2 separate regions of the Homo sapiens genome follow, and region 2 is linked to region 1. Evidence: promoter capture Hi-C in human tissues and cell types (Jung and others, 2019). All regions are on one chromosome and are shown on one strand. Each heading gives the region's core, a stretch centred on a gene start or on the middle of the fragment in contact. The rest is flanking DNA. Distances are from core to core; before and after follow the strand shown. Region 1 has its middle 53 kb from the start of MIR1976. Region 2 holds the start of RPS6KA1 (ribosomal protein S6 kinase A1).

Region 1 (6,193 bases), core at 1,138-3,637:
AGATCTAGAAACATCCTTCCCTTCACCTTCCTAACTTACGTGTTAAGAATCCCTTTGTTTGACAAATAGAATTTTCAAAGCAGTTTCTTTCGTTCAAACACTACGTGATTAAGTTTGTTTTGGAAAAAAACACAGAATGAGGACTTTACTAAGAGTGATTCTCACAAATGATGGTACCTGAAAAGAGGCAAACTTGGCCATCAGGGCAGCCAAAATGGCACAAGCATTTGGAACTTGTTGCCTTATCCTTGGCAAAAACACCACTGGATCCTTTCCGCTCTACGTAAAGTAAGCTGTGGCAAAGTTTACTTTTCTTGTGGCACAAAATCTAGACTCACAGTGAGCTTCTTCACCATTAGCTTCAATTTATATTCTGCCTCTCTTCTTTGTCCATTATTCAGGGCACCTGCTCTCTGTCCCTCCCCCACTCCTCCAGCTGTCTGTCTGTCTCATTTGTGTCAATTAGGAATTCAATACTGCTTGATTTAACTGAATGACTTTCCCTGTACAGAATCTCAACTACAGACAGGGCATCAACCATCACTCCCATTCCCCAGAATAAAAAATTCTGAAAAGCCAAAGGCATGCAAGGATACCTAAGAAAGGAGCAAGAGGTCCTTGCTAGCTATGGCAGTGAGCCTGAGAAAGATGGCAAGACCGCATTTCCTGACACCCAGTTATGTATTTGGTGGCCTACCAAGAGTCAGCATTGCATCCAAGATCATTTGAGTCTACTCTATTTAGTAAAGGTTTTCAAAGAGGATCATAAGACTTAGAAATCAAGAACCAACTGGAAGAAATAAACTTTTTATATCATTTCCTAGTTTACAACATGCTTTCCCATCCTCAGAAGAATGACTTTGTCTTTCTGTTAATTCAGTCATTGAAAACATCGGTCCTATTCTTTAGTCAACTGCCTCTATTCACCTACTATGTGCCAGGCAGTGTTATCAGAGCTGAAAACAGTGTTCTAAGAACAGAAAATAAAATAAAGTTCTTATTCTCATGCAACTTACATTCTAATGGGAAGGATCAAAATAATAAGTAAGTAGACCTATAGTGTATTAAATGATAATGAGGGTATTGAGAATCATAAAGCAGTGTTAAGGGAGATAGAAATTATGGTTTGAGCAGAGTCTTTTTTTTTTTTTTTTTTTTGAGATGGAGTCTCACTCTCTTGCCAGGCTGGAGGGCAATGGTGTGATCTCAGCTCAATGCAACCTCCGACTCCCTGGTTCAAGCAATTCTCCTGCCTCAGCCTCCTGAGTAGCTGGGATTACAGGCACGCGCCACCATGCCCAGCTAATTTTTTGTATTTTTAGTACAGATGGGGTTTCACCATGTTGTCCAGGATGGTCTCGATCTCCTGACCTTGTGATCTGCCCGCCTCGGCCTCCCAAAGTGTTGGGATTACAGGTGTGAGCCACCGCGCCCGGCTGGACAGAGTTTTTTTAGTTTACAAAGGGTAGACAGAAAGAACTCACTGATGAGGTGATTTGAGCTGAGACATAAAAGAAGAGGGAGAACAAGCCATATAAATATGAGGGGGAGGAGCTTGCCAGGCAGAGGGCACAGCAAATGCACAGGTCCTGACACAGGAGTTTCCTTGTTGAAGGAGACCAATTGTAGCTAAATAGAATAAGCCAAGGGAAAGATGTAAGAGAGGTCAGGAAAGTGGGAGTGGAGGGGACAGACTTGTAAGGCCTTGTAAATCATTGTGGGGTCTTTGTTTATTTTGTTTTGTTTTGTTTTAGACAGACTCTCGCTCTTTTGCCCAGGCTGGCTGAAGTGCAGTGGCACAGTCTTGGCTCATTGCAACCTCCGCCTCCCAGGTTCAAGCGATTCTCCTGCCTCAGCCTCCCAAGTAGCTGGGATTACAGGTGTGCACCACCACACTCAGCTAACTTTTATATTTTTAGTAGAGACAGGGTTTCACCATGTTGGCCAGGCTGGTCTTGAACTCCTGGGCTCAAGTGATCTGCCCGCCTTTGCCTCCCAAAGTGCTGGGATTACAGGTGTGAGCCACTGTGCTCGACCTCTCTGTTTTTTATTCTGAGTGAGATGAGAAGCCACTGGAGGGTTTTTAGTAGGGGAAAGACTTATGTTTTATGATATGACATAAAATTATTTAATTTTTTTACAACGGGGTCACCCAGGCTGGAGTGTAGTGGCGCAGTCATAGCTCACTGCAGCCTTGAACTCCTGGGCTCAAGTGATCCTCCTGCCTCAGTCTCCTAAGTAGTTAGGACTACAGGTGTGAACCACTATGCCAGCTAATTTTAAAATTTTTTTGAAGAGATCGGGTTTCACTATGTTGCCCAGGCTGGTCTCAAACTCCTGGCCTCAGGTGATCCTCCTGTCTTGGCCTCCCAAAACACTGGGGTTACAGGCACAGGCCACCACACTCAGCCTCTAAAAAAATTTATGGGTACATAATAGTTGTAAATATGATTTATGTTTTTAAAGGATTATTATGGCTGCTGTGTAGAAAATAGAAGGTAGGAGTGGAAGAGCTGAAGCAGGGAGACCAGTTAGGAGGCAATTGCAGGAATCAAAGCAAGAAATAATGGTGGCTTGGGTCAGGGTGATAGCAGTGCAGGTGGTGACAAGTGGTCATATTTTGGACGTAGAGGTGCCAGGATTTGCTGATGGATATGATGAGGAATATAAGAGAAATAGAGAGGAGTCAAGAATATTGTGAAGCTTTTGGCCCAAGCAAGTATTAGATAATAGTGGAAAGAACAGAGTCCTTGAATCAGAGGCTGTGAGAGACTAAATCTCAATTCCACGGTTTATGGATTGTGTAATCTTGGGCAAGTCACCGAACCTCTCTGAGCATCAGTTTCTTCATCAGTAAGAAACCTTTTGAAATATTGTGGCTCTAGGATCTTCTCAATTCTCTCTTTGTTAACTTACCATTCTCTAATGGCTTCTCACTGTATTTAGAATAAAATACAAACTCCTTTGAGGTCCAAGAAAGCCCTGTATGGACTGGCCTCACCTACCTCTCCAACCTGTCAGCTACATTGAGCTTCTTTTTGTGTTCGTCTGGTAACAAATAGAACCTGGTAACCCAACCCCTGCCCTCCCCTCCCCTCTCCTCTCTTTCTTTCTTTCTTTCTTTCTTTTTTTTTTTTTTTTTTTTTGACAGGGTCTTGCTCCATCACCGAGGCTGAAGTGCAGAAGTGAGATCAGAGATCATGTCACAGCTCACTGCAGCCTTGACCTCCCAGGTTCAAGTGATCCTCCCACTTCAGCCTCCTGAATTGCCGGGACTATAGGCACATGCCACCACACTCAACTAATTAAAAAAAAAAAATTGTAGGCTGGGCACAGTGGTTCATGCCTGTAATCCCAGCACTTCGGGAGGACGAGGAAAGCAGATCACTTGAGGCCAGGAGTTTGAGACCAGCCTGGCCAACATAGTGAAACCCCGTCTCTACTTAAAATACAAAAAATTAGCCAGGTGTGGCAGCTCGCGCCAATAGTTCCAGCTACTCTGGGGCTAAGGCGGGAGAATCGCTTGAACCCAAGAGGCAGAGGCTGCAGTGAGCCGAGATCATGCCACAGAAGTCCAGTCTGAGAGACAGAGCAAGACCCCTCTCAAAAAAAAAAAAAAAAAAAAAAAAAAATATATATATATATATATATATATTTGTAGACACTGGGGGGTCTCCTTATGTTGCCCATTTGAATTCCTGGGCTCAAGTAATCCTCCCACCTTGGCCCCACAAAGTGCTGGGATTACAGGCATGAGCCACTGCACCCGGCCAGAATTTGATAACTTTCCATCTTTTTTTTTTTTTATTTTCAAGAGGGAGTTTCGCTCTTGTTGTCCAGGCTGGAGTATAATGGTGCGATCTCGGCTCACTGCAACCTCTGCCTCCCAGGTCCAGGGGATTTTCCTGCCTCAGCCTCCCGAGTAGCTGGGATTACAGGTGTGTGCCACCATGCCCGGCTAATTTTTGCATTTTTAATAGAGACAGGGTTTCACCATGTTGGTCAGCCTGGTCTCGAACTCCTAACCTCAGGTGATCTACCCTCCTCAGCCTCCCAAAGTGCTGGCATTACAGGCGTGAGGCACCATGCCTAGCCGTAACTTTCCATCTTAAGAACTATCACTGGCTAGGCACTGTGGCTCACACCTGTAATCCCAGCACTTGGGAGGCCAAGGCGGGTGGATCACCAGAGGTCAAGAGTTCGAGACCAGCGTGGCCAACATGGTGAAACTCCGTTTCTACTAAAAATACAAAAATTAGCCGGGTGGATGCGCCTGTAATCCCAGCTACTCGGGAGGCTGAGGCAGGAGAATTGCTTGAACCCAGGAGGTGGAGGTTGTAGTGAGCTGAGATCACACCACTGCACTCCAGCCTGGGCGACCGAGTGAGACTGCGTCTCAAAAACAAACAAACAAACAGAAAATTACACATACTCTCTTCTCTCTGCCTGGAATGACCCTCACCCTGGTGCCTTCTCATCCTGCCAGAAATTTTACTTCCTCAGAGTGGCGTTTCCTGACCATCAATCTTGAAGGAGGTTCATACCATTATTCTCTCTTTCAGGCTTTGTTCTTTTCATTCAGAAAAGTTCATCACAATTTATAATTCTGTTTACCTGTTTACTGTCTGTCTCTTCCTCTAGACTGTAAATTCTATGAAGGCAGGGACCACCATGTGTATATCCAATGCCTAATACAATACTTGGCTCATAGTAGATTATCAATAAATATTTGCTGAAATGCTGAGCGACATATAAGGCTCTTATTGGTATTCTTTTGTTGGTTTGTTTATTTTTTTCATTCCCAGGCTGGAGTACAGTGTTGTGATCACAGCTCACTGCAGCCTCAACTTCCTAGGCTCAAGGGATCCTCCCACCTCAGCCTCCTGAGTAGCTGGGATTACAGGCACATGCCACCACACCTGGCTAATTTTTATTTTTATTTTTTTGTAGAGACAGGGTTTAACTATGTTTTCCAAGCTGGTCTTGAACTCCTGGGCTCAAGTGATTGTCCTGCCTCAGCCTCCCAAAGTGCTGGAATTAGAGGTGTGAGCCACAAGTGCCTGGCCTGGTATTTTTTTTTTTTTTTTTTTTTTTTACTTAAAAAATACCCACAAAACTGGCCGGGCATGGTGGCTCACGCCTGTAATCCCAGCACTTTGGGAGGCCAAAGCAGGTGGATCGCCTGAGCTCGGAGGTTCAAGACCACCCTGGGCAACATGGCGAAATCCCGTCTCTACTAAAATACAAGAAAATTAGCTGGGCATGGTGGCACATGCCTGTAGTCCCAGCTAGTTGGGAGGTTGAGGCGCGAGAATCTCTTGAGCCTCAGAAGTGGAGGTTGTGGTGAGCCAAGATCGCGCCACTGCACGCAGCTTGGGCTACAGAGTGAGATTCCATCTTGAAAAAAAGAAAATTTATTATTATTATTTTTTGTATTTTTAGTAGAGTCGAGGTCTCACCATGTTGGCCAGGCTTGTCTCGACCTCCTGACCTCAGGTGATCTGCCCGCCTCGGCCTCCCAAAGTGCTGGGATTACAGGTGTGAGCCACTGTGCCTGGCCAAAATTTACTTTTTGATATGAAATTTTCAACCAAGACTCATGGGACTTTATATTTTTGATGACTGAGTAGCTTTCAAAGGGAAAATTATGCATTTAGCAATGGTGCTAGAATTAGGTTCAAATTAACAAATTAAAGGTCTTAACCTAGGATCTGAGAAGTATTAAACCAGTTAGGAACTTTGTTTTCCCAGATATGTGCATAGCTTGTTTGCTTCCTCACCCTCTTCTTTACTGTAGTGTCACCTTCTCAGTGAGATCTTCCCTGCCCATTCAATTTAAAATTTAAACCCTCCCCCAACACTCATTTCCATTCTCTGCTTATTTTTCCTCCACAGCACTTATCATTTAACATATATCATTATTTTGTTTATATATCTCTCTCATCACCCCTTTGCTGTCTCTCCCATAATGTAACCTCCATGAATTTTGTTCACTGTTTTATCCCTAGCATATAGGACAATACTTGAGACATAATAGGCACTCAATATTTGCTGAACGAATATAAAGAACACTCATGAGTTTTCTCTTTGAATCTAATAGTGTGAGAATATGGAAAATCCACAATATGGCATTTCAGCAAAACAGTGATGGGACTTTGCAACCCAAATGTTTCTTCTAACAATACCCATAGCA
Region 2 (6,193 bases), core at 1,016-3,515, 77 kb before region 1:
CATCCCAGCTAATACAGTGAAACCCCGTCTCTACTGAAAATACACAACGTTAACCAAGCGTGGTGGCACGCACCTGTAGTCCCAGCTACTCAGGAGGCTGAGGCAGGAGAATTGCTTGAACCTGGGAGGTGGAGGTTGCAGTGAGCTGAGATTGAGCCACTGCACTCCAGCCTGTTGACAGAGCAAGACTCTGTCTCAAAAGAAAAGAAAAAAAATTAGCTGGGCATGGTGGCACACACCTGAAGTGCCAGCTACTTGTGGGAGGTGGGAGGATCGCCTGAGCCCAGAAGTTCAAGGCTGCAGTGAACTACGATTTTACCACTGCACTGCAGCCTAGGCAACAGAGCGAGACTCCGTCTCTAAAAAACAAATAAAAAATATATAGCTGTAAATTTATTGAATTAAAATGAATCTTGTCCTATATACCTGAAAGATTGAGATTATAATTCCCATTTTACAGATGGAGAAATTGAGGTTTAGAGGCATAAAATGAGTTTCCCTGTGTTAAGAAGGTAGCAGAGCTGGAATTCAAACCCAGAATTGTTGGGTTCCAAAGTCCTTTCACTCAAAATTCAGTTCAACAGCTGAGGTCCTACCCTGGGAAAGCCATGGAAAAGGGGGAGCACGTGGATTCTGGAGAAATCCTTATCCACTTTGATTTTTTTTTTTTTGAGATGGAGTCTCTGTCGCCCAGGCTGGAGTGCAGTGGGGGCTATCTCCGCTTACTGCAAGCTCCGCCTCCCGGGTTCACACCATTCTCCTGCCTAAGCCTCCCGAGTAGCTGGGACTACAGGTGCCTGCCACCACGCCCTACTAATTTTTTGTATTTTTAGTAGAGACAGGGTTTCATCATGTTAGCCAGGATGGTTTCAATCTCCTGACCTCGTGATCCGCCCGCCTCGGCCTCCCAGTGCTGGGATTACAGGTGTGACACTTTGATTTTTTTAAGCCCTAGTCTGTTCTCAACCTCTTGTGTGACCTTGGGTAAGTCACTTCATCTTTCCGAGCTTGTTTCAGGATTTGTAAACTAGGTGGTGGTAATCATTCAAGGAAATCACATGGCTCGCAGGAAGCTTTTGATAAACATTCCTTCCCATTCCCCTGCCTTAGAACAGCTTTGCAAATAACTGACCAGTCTTCCTGCGAAACCAGCAAGCTTGTCCCTCCAGCAAGCTCACTCCTCACATGTGAATACATCTCAGCACACCCGGACCCCTAAGGCTCTTTAGGTGGAGGCTGAATCTCTCTGGGGCAACCAGTCTCCCTGGCCTTTCACTCCAAGTCCCACCAAGCCTCGGTTCATCCTGGGAGCCTGGTCCCTCCTCAGAGAGTCGCAAACCCAAACTAGTCCAGAGCTGGGGCTGCAGGTGACTCCAGGGAGACCTGACCTGAAAGGACCCCCTTCAAGTGATAGGGCAGAGCACAGATTGCAAAAACGCATATTAAGAAATCACTCTTGGCCGGGCGCGGTGGCTCATGCCTGTAATCCCAGCACTTTGGGAGGCCGAGGCAGGAGGATCACTTGAGCCGGGGAGTCAGAGACCAGCCTAGGTAACAAAGCGAAACTTCGTGTCTCTCTCTCTCTCACTATATACACACATACATACATATATGTGCATATATATAATATTTATTTATACATATTTATTTATATATGTAATATTTATATACATTATGTAAAATCAATCGATCAATCAATCACTCTGTGGTGGCACTATGGGTCCTGATGGTGGTAACAACTGCTGATGCCCATCTTGGCCTGGGGCACTGAGATCGCCCGGAGATCACAGTGTTAGCTTCAGGGCGGGGTAGAAATTAGAGGATAGGGGATCTCTAGGGCCTGGTGAGTTGAGGGCCTAAGGGGAGTGGGTCTCAGGCTCCTTCCAAGCCTCAGCCTAGATCAGGCCCAGGAACCCAGTGTGAATGTGTGTGCTGGGGTCGGGGATAAGGTGCTTCTCTCCCGTTGGAAGGAGAAGGAACATCTGGGCTGGGATTCCAAAAGAGCTGAGCGGGGGAGAACGGTGGCCCTGGTGTGGTGTGTCCAGGGGTACACCACTGGAAGGGAAGGAGCCAGCAGGGCCTCTCCGGCGGAGCCGAGCGCGGGCCGGGGGCTCGCGGCAGGGGCGGGGCCGGCCCTCGGGGCGCGGCGGGGGCGGGGGTCCGCGCTGGGAATGCCGCGCCGCGGGGGCTGGGGCGGGGCTTCTCCGGCTCCGCCCCCGCGCAGGTAGCCAATGGGCGCGGCGGCGCCGGGTGACGGAGGGAGCCGAAGTGCTAGTGCCGCGGCGGCGGCGGCGGACGGCCCAGCCGGAGCGCGAGGGGCTCGGGGGGGCGCGGCGGTTCGGGTCGCAGAGCCAGGGACCCCAGGACCCGGGAGGCGGCGCAGCCGGGGCCGCCGGAGGAGCGCGGGTGACCTGGCGGCGGCGAGATGCCGCTCGCCCAGCTCAAGGAGCCCTGGCCGCTCATGGAGCTAGTGCCTCTGGACCCGGAGGTGAGTGAGCGGGGCGGGGGACGGGCGCCCGCGGCCGGCGAGCCCGGATCCTCACAGGGGCGGGGCGGCCCGAAGCGCCGCTGCAGTCCGGCGGGCGCCCGCGAGGGCGCGAGTGCCCTCCGATCTCTTGCCCACTGTCCGGCTCCACCCCCCTATGCCCGGGTGTGCGTGTGCGAGGGACAGTTCCGCCAAGCGCCGACTACCTCCCCGCCATAGCCAGGAGAGGGGATCCTATGGGGCGCTGAGATCTGGTCGCCTTCACCCCACACCTAGGACCCGTCCCGGCATCTGTCCAGAGCTGTCGGAGCTTCCTCCATTAATGCAGACGGGGAGATCTTCAGTGCCAGATGTCTGGGATTCTACCAGAGACAGGGGTTATGGGACCCCCACTTCTCCCAGGGCCCTCCGCCAAGAGCTCCCTGCTTCTGGCTTCACCGCTGCTGAGCCTAGAAGGATTGCTCCTCTTGACCCCTGGCGGATGCGGAGTGTGGGATGGCACCACCCGTCTGGGGCTGGAACTCCTGGTTTTCTTTGCCCTGAGGCTAGGGCCAGAGGACACCTGTGTGCCCTACCCCAGGCTGTGGAGACGAGAGTGGGGAAGAGCCCTTAGACCTTGTGAAGATGATTCCTGGCAGGGCGTGGGGGGACCTTGGTGCCTGCCTCCCTTCTTATGCCCCTTCCGGTAGGAAGGGCTGGGCCCTTGGGGAGTTTGGCTTCTGCCAGCCCAGACTCCCCAGACAACCCAGCTCCTTCTCTCTCAGAAGCAGCTCCTGACCTCCCTTGAGGGCTCTGTGGCTCCAGTCCCTAAGCGTGCAGAAGGCCACCTCTTCCTGTGCCTTTTGACCCCAGGGTCAAGGTCAAGCCCCTGAATGAGCTGGTGGAAAACTTCCTCCTTAACCTCTTGCTGGGAAGGAAGCAGGTGATATTCTCCTTCCCAGGTGGTTGTTGGGGGTATGCAGGGAGGGAATGGAGACCTCATTTGAGCCCAGGAGCTGAGATGACTTTCTCCCAGCTTGGGCCTGGAGCCCCTGTCTCAGTCCCCTCCTCTGCCCTCTCTTACCTAGGGCAGCCACCAAGTGTCCTGCCTCTCAGGACCACAGGCTTAGATCAGGGTGAGCACCCAGGGTCCCCAGCCCCCAGGGTGTGCTGCCCCTTTAAAGGGATGGCCGACACTGGCTATTGGAGGGTGGGCGCGGCAGGATTAGGTAACCAACCTGAAGGAGCAATTTGGAGTAAATTGCTCTGGGATTCCTGCCATGGGGATTTTACAGGCACTGCTAGGCTGCTCAGAGGTTCTCTCGCTGACTCACCCTCTGAGGTGAGGAACACTGCCCTCTGCAGCCCCTGTACTGCCACCCCGCTACTAGGACCGGGGCGCAAGGTCCTGGGGGTGGTGCTCAGAGGTGGATTCCTTTGCCCAGGCACGCCCCTGGGACCAGGCCTCCAAAGGAGAAGGTAGGGCTGGGAGAGGCTGGGGAGTGACTTTATGCTGATAGGGAGGGTGGACACCCAGGAGCTCGATCCTGGGGCACCACTTCCTGCTTCTCTTTAGGGAATCCTGAGGCAGGGGCCAGCTTCACCAGGGAGCCAGGTTTAACTGGGAAACTCATCTCAGTTTTGAGTTCTGTAACATCTCAGGTCTGTGAGAGGGGAAGACCAGCGGACTTCCTGGGATTGGTGGGGCAGGGGGACGCAATTTCCTCAGGAGCTTCGCTCCAGAAACGATGTGTGATCCTCAGTCAGTCCTCAGCCTGTCTGGGCCTCTGCTTCTCCAGTGGCAAGTGCTAGGTTCTAGCCTCCACTTCCTGGGCCTGAGAGGGTGCAGAGCGCTGGGTACTGTTGTCTGGTCCCCCCTCCCCCACTCCTGGAGGTGCCAGGCGACTGGGTGTTATTGTTTGGGTAACAGGAGCCACAGGGCAGCCACGGCGCAGGTTGGGCTGTTCTCACTGGAGAACAGGGCCTCGCTGTTCTTAGCCCAGGTGACATGTAAGCGATACAGCCGCCTGACCTGCACGTACAGGCACCACCACTGCTGGCAGCTCCTAGCCAGGAAGGAGGCAGGTGAGGGGCTGGTGGGGGACTTTTCACAGGGACCTAGGATCTGGACTGCCCTGCCCTCCCTTAATGCTGCTGAAAATGGGCCGCTGGGAGGCAGGGCCTGGCCCAGGGTGCAGCCCAGGTGGAGTAATCTATGGGAAGCGTGGGTGAGGATTCTGCCTGGGCCTCGCTTAGCCCTGTTGAAAGCAGTAGCCTTGTCCCCAGGCCCAGTTCTGCCACGTACAGAGCTTTACTATGTGCCACCCACTCTGCCTTACGAATGTCACCCCACTTTAATTCTCACAACAGCTTCTCAAGATAGGGATTATTACCCCTGTTTTCAGATGGGACAACTGAAAACTCAGGCTTATGTGTTAATATCAGAGCCAGGATTGGAACCAAGATCTCTCTCTTCCACCAAGTGGGAGAGAGGCTCAGGGATGGGGAAGGGCTGGAGCCACACTAGCCCAGGTGGAAGGTGCTCCAAGAGAGGCTCCGGATGTTGGCGGACTCTCCTTATCCTGCAAGGCCCTCGTCCAGTCTTTGCCGAGGGCTGGCAGTGCCAGCCAGCCCTGGCACCTGGCCCCCAGCCTCCAGCAGTGAGCAGGGCTGCCAATGCTGGGCTCAGAACCCAGCTCCTGGGGCTGCTTCCTGCCTGTGGGGCACGTGCTGTCCTTCTCCATCTGCTGCCCAGCTTCTCCAGACGCTGCCCTGGGCCCCTCTTTCTAAGACAGAGTTGCTTGGGTGGGAAGGAATGATGCCAGTTGGAACCCATTTCTGACATCTCAGAACTGGGGGCAGTGGTCTGGGGCCCTGGGCATCTGTCCTCATGAGCAGTGCTCTCTGAGGAAGAGGGAGGAGTGTGGGTCTTCAACCTCTAAGAGGCCAAAGGACTCCTAAGACAAAGTCCTTCATTCAGTACTCTGCAAGGTCAGCACCATTGTCCCCATTCAGTCATTTATTTAGCACTTAGGTGATAAGTACTATTTCAGACAACAAAGTGCAGATGTCAGCAAGACACACCTGCCCTCGTGATACAGATGAGGAAACTGAGACTTTATTACTATTATTATTTTTTGAGACATAGTCTTGCTCTGTCACCAGGCTGGAGTGCAGTGGCGTGATCTCGGCTCACTGCAACCTCCACCTCCCGGGTTCAAGTGATTCTCCTGCTTCAGCCTCCTGAGTAGCTGGGACTACAGGCCCGTGTCACCATGCCCAGCTAATTTTTGTATTTTTAGTAGAGTCAGGTTTTCACCATGTTGACCAGGATGGTCTCGATCTCTTGACCTCGTGATCCTCGTGATCTGTGAGGCCTCTTGGCCTCAGCCTCCCAAAGTGCTGGGATTACAGACATGAGCCACTGCGCCTGGCCGAAACTGAGACTTCAAAAAGTGATATGAGGCCACGCGTGGTGGCTCATGACTGTAATCCTAGCACTTTGGGAGCCTGAGGCGGGTGGATCACCTGAGGTCAGGAGTTTGAGACCAGCTGGGCCAACATGGCGAAACCCCGCCTCTACTAAAAATACAAAAATTAGCCAGGTGTGGTGGTGCGGCCTATATTCCCAGCTACTTGGGAGGCTGAGGCAGAAGAATTGCTTGAACCCAGCGGGGCAGAGGTTGCAGTGAGCTGAGATTGCGCCGCTGCACTCCAGCCTGGGCAAAA

The links. Contacts are between HindIII fragments. The study calls those that stand out against the background at their distance.
Region 2: a contact is called between the fragment with the promoter of RPS6KA1 here and a fragment that was not itself captured in region 1, in 2 of the 25 tissues and cell types used here (hippocampus and thymus).

Annotation. Positions count from the first base shown.
Region 1 is chr1:26,604,574-26,610,766 of GRCh38, forward strand. No RefSeq gene overlaps it. Among named protein-coding and RNA genes, the nearest start is that of MIR1976, 53 kb to the left of the region's middle. The HindIII fragment of the contact is 7,565 bases long and covers 1-6,170 here.
Region 2 is chr1:26,527,496-26,533,688 of GRCh38, forward strand. It overlaps RPS6KA1 (ribosomal protein S6 kinase A1), which reads left to right and starts at 2,266. Exons shown (of 22, transcript NM_002953.4): 1 at 2,266-2,488. The coding sequence starts at 2,426. LOC124903884 (a long non-coding RNA gene) reads right to left here and starts at 3,903. Exons shown (of 2, transcript XR_007065558.1): 1 at 3,703-3,903; 2 at 1,625-3,066. RefSeq lists a silencer at 2,151-2,630 and enhancers at 2,872-3,782, 3,783-4,694. The HindIII fragment of the contact is 11,905 bases long and covers 1-6,193 here.